2 separate regions of the Homo sapiens genome follow, and region 1 is linked to region 2. Evidence: promoter capture Hi-C in human tissues and cell types (Jung and others, 2019). All regions are on one chromosome and are shown on one strand. The core of a region is centred on a gene start or on the middle of the fragment in contact, and the rest is flanking DNA. Distances in the headings are between cores, read along the strand shown.

The links. Contacts are between HindIII fragments. The study calls those that stand out against the background at their distance.
Region 1: a fragment that was not itself captured here is called in contact with the fragment with the promoter of DNM3 in region 2 in 1 of the 25 tissues and cell types used here (hippocampus).

The regions. Positions count from the first base shown.
Region 1 is chr1:172,554,046-172,557,063 of GRCh38, reverse strand. It overlaps SUCO (SUN domain containing ossification factor), which reads right to left. Exons shown (of 24, transcript NM_014283.5): 4 at 1,041-1,195. Among named protein-coding and RNA genes, the nearest start is that of SUCO, 22 kb to the right of the region's middle. The HindIII fragment of the contact is 3,711 bases long and covers 1-3,018 here.
Region 2 is chr1:171,839,683-171,842,916 of GRCh38, reverse strand. DNM3 (dynamin 3) reads right to left here and starts at 1,419. Exons shown (of 21, transcript NM_015569.5): 1 at 1,100-1,419. The coding sequence starts at 1,260. RefSeq lists an enhancer at 995-1,174 and a silencer at 1,375-1,604. The HindIII fragment of the contact is 5,744 bases long and covers 1-3,234 here.

The sequences.
Region 1 (3,018 bases), core at 395-2,894, 710 kb before region 2:
GATTTTTAAAAATTACTTATTCTCAATGTATCTTCTCTAAAGTTTAATTTCCATCATTACTATACTAATTCTACCAGCATTAAAGTTGTTACTTATGGCATCCTTCAAAAGTCATTATCTCAAGACATTTCACTAAAATTTTAAGGTGTTCTTAGAATTTCGTTTTTAAAATATAAACCTTCCTATTTTTCCCTGCCTCACCTCCATTTCATTAACCAGTCATTTTTAATATAATGGGAGTATAGCATTCACTCTTCAGATATATAGTATCTAGCCTTAAATTCCTTCTGAATCATTTAAATTTAAAAGTTTAAATACTATCATTATTTCTCAACATGTCTTCTGTTCCCTGGCCCATACTGAGACAAGCTTCTAAATGGTAACCATAATATCTTGTGCAACTCCTTCAACCCAGGCCCTTACATTCTTGAGTTATGTACCAGTTATTCTTCTTGCACTTTATTTATGTCAACTCATTTGATAAAGGAAATGCTTAATGTAGTATTAAGAGAAGGACATTTTGTTTTGTTCTTTGGACTGCTGCAGGAAGAAGCTAGGAGAAGTACATAACAAATTTTCTAAATTAAGGATCACTTAAACCTAAACACTCTGAATATTTATTATCGAGTTTGAAAAAGTTAGCGATTCACACGAAGACATAAAAATGAATGAAATGACAGTGATACTTAATGGAAATGAATAACCTGACATTTGAGTTGATAATTATAGGGAATTCAATTCAAATAAGCACTGTTTCCTAAGTAGAACCTTACTTTGCTCAGACTATATAGAGATTTCATATCTGGGATCTATCAGCTTCATTGAGTTAGTTAGCTAAATAAACTTGTTATAAAATCATTACATTCAAAACACACAAACGCATGCACACATACGCACACAAAACACAAGCACTGTAATTTAGGTCTGCTATATAGCCTAAACTTCAAACTTGAGTATCAAGCTGCTTTATCTTTTAAGGAAATTTTTCTATCACTAACTAAGGAGATTCTTTTTTGTGTTTGTTTTTTGTAACAACTTACTCAAGCTTTGAGATTGGAGTGATTTCTGAGGTAGATGAGCTGGAAATATTTTCAACAGTTTCACTGTCCACAACTGCATTGGAAGACTCTTCATGCAAATCAACTGTAGGGAGTGTCTCCACCACCGGTGGACTTAACTTTTTTGACTCTGTATTCTGTTTAAAAAAACAAGTCAGCTAAATTAAATGTTGAGATTAATATAACATCTCTTTAGCAGAACGGGCATTTATGGAAAGCATTTCTGAAAAATGACAATATAAACAATGTTCACTAAAAAAAGTACTTTTATAAAAATCCTTTCTTCCAATATTACCGCCCTAAGGAATGCATTTCATATGAAAATACAGGCCCTAAGCATTTTTCATGGCATTTCATAAACTAGGAAAGCACTTTCTCCCTACCTATTTCCTACTTTGCATCAGGACCTACAGAGATTTCCCTCTTCTCTAATTGATGAATGATAGTAGCAACAAAGAAACCCTATGGACATGTACAAAACAGTACAATACATAGTTCTTGACCCTGAGCAGTTTAGGAAATAATGTGTATCAATAAGCAACGATATAAGATATGTTCAAGTAACACCATGAAGCAATAAATGATTCTTACTGCTCCTTCAGTCTTGAATGACCTGGGCCTTTCAGTCCTCCAAAACACAATGTGAAATCTACCTAACACCTGTTCATATTTGAAAACCTCTATCAGCACCTCCTCCTCCAAGATCAACCCTAAACAGAATTAACTACTCCCTTTCCCCTATGCCTCCAGTGTTCTCTGTACACTTTTATCACTGCATCTATAACAACTCAATTGCCATTATTCATGTCTCCCTCTCTTCTTCAACTATACCATAAATGTCCTCAGTAAGAACTATGTTCTCTTGATCCTCATATTCCCAGTGTCTAGCACAGTATCTAGCGCACAGTAGGTGTTTAAATGCTCAATAAATGAATATCAAGTGAGAGGTACTCATGTTCAGCTCAAGGAAAAAGAAACTAAGGACTATGATGAATTAGAAGAGCTAGGCATTAAAGAAAAGGAGGGCCAGTACAAGAGCACAAACAAACATCGAGGCACGCAGTCCGGAGAATATAAAGTATGATCATTTGGGGAATTATTTACACCGAGAAATTCACAAAAAAATATAAATAGTCATCTGCATTTTTATGATGGAGGCCTTGAGAAAATGACTACTGCCTTATTATCAAATACTATATTACCATATGAACATGTATTCAAAATTTAAAAATTAATGAGATACTTTACATGCTTTTTTTTTTTTTTTTGAGACAGAGTCTCACTCTGTTGCCCCAGGCTGGAGTGCAGTGGCATGATCTCGGCTCACTGCAACCTCCGCCTCCTGGGTTCAAGCAATTCTCCTGCCTCAGCCTCCTGAGTAGCTGAGACTATAGGCGTGCACCACCACACCTGGCTAATTTTTGTATTTTTGGTAGAGACAGGGTTTCACCATGTTGGCCAGGCTGGTCTCGAACTCCTGACCTCAGGTGATCCACTGTGCCCGGCCTACATGCTATTTTTTAATTAAGTCTTCAAAATCCAATGTGTATTTTACACTTACAGTAAATTTCAATTTGGACTAGCCGCATTTCAAGTGCTTAATGGCCACATGTGGCTAGTGGCTACTGTAATGAACAACATAGGTATACAAGACATGGTAAGCACTCGGAAGTATTTGAGCACAACTACATCATAATAAAAGTTTTATGAATAACGGTAGGAGTGTTCAGGATAGTCATACAATTGTAAGGGCTACAAGTATCATTTTTCTCTTACTCCTATGCATAAACCCTTGACAAATGTCTTCCAGAATCCAATAAAATGAAACTAATTCTATTGCTTTAGATAACTCAGTAAGTTATAAAATAGCCCTGGCTCTTGCAAAAAGTACAAGGTTAAAAAATAAAAAATGAAAAAAAAATTAGCCAAGGCTGTATTTTTTTAAAAAGAAAGAATTCTC
Region 2 (3,234 bases), core at 170-2,669:
CTAGGAAACAGATTTCAGTTTTCATAATGCTTTTAAATGGGCTTTTCTTAGCAAATGTCTGCACTCTTCAGGCAAGGCCATTAAGGTAACTTAATCCCTCATGAATTGCTCAGTGGAAGAAATGCTGATTCCTAATTCGAAAATTAATTCCTTAGCTGTTTCTGTATTAAGAGTCATGAGGAAAACCACAGCTACAATTTAGATTCAGAATGTTGTCTTGAAGGCTAGCAAGACAAATAGGAGCTTAGAGAACGGAAGATGATGCTGGGGGAGGGGGCGCAGAGAGAGTGCGAGAAAGATGCTGGTCAGTTCCGAGATGATGCAGGAATGACATGGCACCTGGACAACATAAGTCCACGTCCACCCCCTGCCAAGTCTGTGCCTCGGGCTCTCTCACAATTGCCTGAAGCTGTGAATAGGTGCACACGCAAACACACCACCTTTTATTCTTCGACTCTCCGGGAGGAGAATGGTGGGGAAGCGTCTCTGGATAAAGCTTCACCACAACAAACGACGTCTTTCTCCTCGCACCCCGCCTCCCCAGCTAGAGGCAGGCAACAGTAGACAGCTGAGAGGAACGAGAACCCTGGCGAGAAGGAAAGCATCTCCACCTAAGGGAGGGGGCTCGGGGGATAAAGCCCCACAGCCTCACAGGGAGCCTCACGGAGGGCGACAGGAAAAGGAGGGGGGTGTTGAGCTGGGAAAACAGGAGAGGGGCACTGGGAAGCTTTCGGCGCGCTACGCAGGGAGGCTGCCCGGGGCTGGCGCGCACCGAGGGGGTGGGGGTCGAGCCCGGGGCGGACCCCTCCCCCGACTCCCCGACTGGAGGACAGGGAGGAAATGGCTTTGTATCGCACGATGAAAGGCAGGCAGGAGGGCCACCAGGCGGGGGGTGGCAGGGGACGGAGGATGCCCAGAGCTGGAGGACCCCGCCCGCCCCACGGACACCGCCACTCTGCCCCCCATTCCACTCTGCCCCCCATTCCACCGCAGCGCCTGGTCCATCCACCCTCTGGCTCCCGCTGCCCGTCCACGTTCCAACGGCCCGCAGCGGGGTCGCCCCACTGCCGCATCCTTACTCCGCGCCCTGCGCGCTTACCTGCCCACGAAGTTCTCGAGCACCGAGCTCTTGCCGGCGCTCTGGCCGCCCACCACGGCGATCTGCGGCAGCTCCAGCAGGCAGCTCTGTCCCAGCGCCGAAAACGCGTCCTGCAGACGGTTCACCAGCGGGATCAGCTCCTCCATCTCCCGGTTCCCCATCTTGCCCGAGGGGCCGGCGACCAGCTGGTCCCTGCTCGCCTCTACGACCTGACAGGGAGTAGGGGCCGCGCTGCCCTGGCTGCTGCTGCTGCGCCGGGCTCAGCCAGCCAGGTCCTGGCGCAGACGTCGGAGCCCGCCGCCAGCCCGCCGCTTGGCTCTGACAGCTAACGACCCGCAGCGCGCCTGCGCGGGCGGGCAGGGGCGTGGCCTATCTCCGCGACGCCCCGCCCCCGCCCCGCGGCTGCCCCGCCCCGGGCTTCCCATCGGACCACCAGGCCAGGCGCGCACGCACTGCAGCCCAGCTGCGGCCAGATGCCACGGCCTCTGCGTTCTGTGGCCAAGGCTCAGAGGCCAAGTTACAGCGCCGGGTCAGGAAATGGCATGAAATCAGCAGCAGCGGCAGCGTTGTTCTCTTTCAGCGGCTACCAAGCCAAAGCCCAGTGGAAAGCACTATCGCCGCTAACACCACCACACGATCACCAGCAACAGCAGCACCGCCGCCGCCACCACCGGGGCACCGCTGCCAGACTACACTTCCCGAAAGGAAATCTCCTCTGTCACGCCCTTCTCCAGAATCCGCGATGACTCCTCCCAGGGTGGCAGGCCTGTTGGAGTCTAAATTCTTCAATGTGACATCCATCTAAGGCCCTGAGTGGTCTGACCTTACTTAATTCTTCATCTGTAATGACTCGTCCTCCCCAGCCCCGCATAAGCACAGGTAGAGTCTGTAGGGTTTACCGCCCCGATACACCCCTTTAATCACTCTGGCCTGTGAGACTCCTCATGCCATTTGCCCTCCCGGTCTATCTCCTTCTACCGGATCTATCCAGAACCAGGTACCCTGGACGCATTCTGTGAAATTTAGCACATTGAGAAGTGACTGTGTGTGGGGTCCTGTGCCTGATGATCGGGACACAAAGATAAATGGCCATGCTTCTCTTAGCCTCCACAGACGGTTCCTTTTTAGTCTGCTCCTCAAATACTGATGCTTCGCAGGGTTTCATATATGGGCATTTTCTTGTCTAATGTTTGTCCTCTGCCTGAGGACTTTCCCATAGCTTTAACTCTGAATCAAGGCTGGCGACTACAGAAATTTACATTGCTAGACCCTGTCTCTCTTCTGCAACTTAGACTGTACTCCAAGAGGAGCCCAGAATACTACCTGAGTGTCCTACAAGTACTACAGACTCAATTTATTCAAAACTGAAGTCATCTTTTGTAATCTCAGCATTTAATGTACAGTTCCTTCTAACTCTAAAAAGACATATTAAAATGTTCATAATGTCAAAAAACCTGAAAACAACCCAAATGTCTATCAACAGGTGAATGAATAAACAAACGTGGTATATATATATAGTGAAATAATCTCTGCCACAAAAAAGACTTTTGATATAGCAACAATCTCAGATACATTATGTAGAATGAAAAAGGCCAAAGACCATATTGGTTTGATTTCATGTATGTGAAGTTCTACAACCAGCAAAGCTATTCTATGGTAATAGAAATCGGAACTGTGGTTGTCTTTGAGGAGTGGAGATTGACTGTAGGAGGCATGAGGAAACTTTCTGGAGTGATGGAAATGTCCCATGTCTTGACTGGGATGTGGGCATACATTTGTCAAAACTCCTCAAACTAAACTTTTAAGTGATGTGCATTTTACTGTACATTACATCTCAACTTTTTTTTAAAGCAGCAGAAAAAGACAAATAAAACTGAATGCATCTCCACTGAAGTGGATCTCTATTAGAATGTCTGCCCAGGAAACCTTTTCTAAGAAACACTCCATCCAATGCATGGTTGTAGCCAGAGCAGTCATGAAGATAGAAAGGCATGAAGAAAAACTGAGCCCTGGCCATAGCTGTGTGCACCAGATTGGGCACCTGACTTGAGCTTTACCAATCAAAGCCTTTTCCCAGGAGTATGCAATTGAGAGAGAGATTGGCCTTTGTCTGAGTGACTGAACTATAAGTGAGG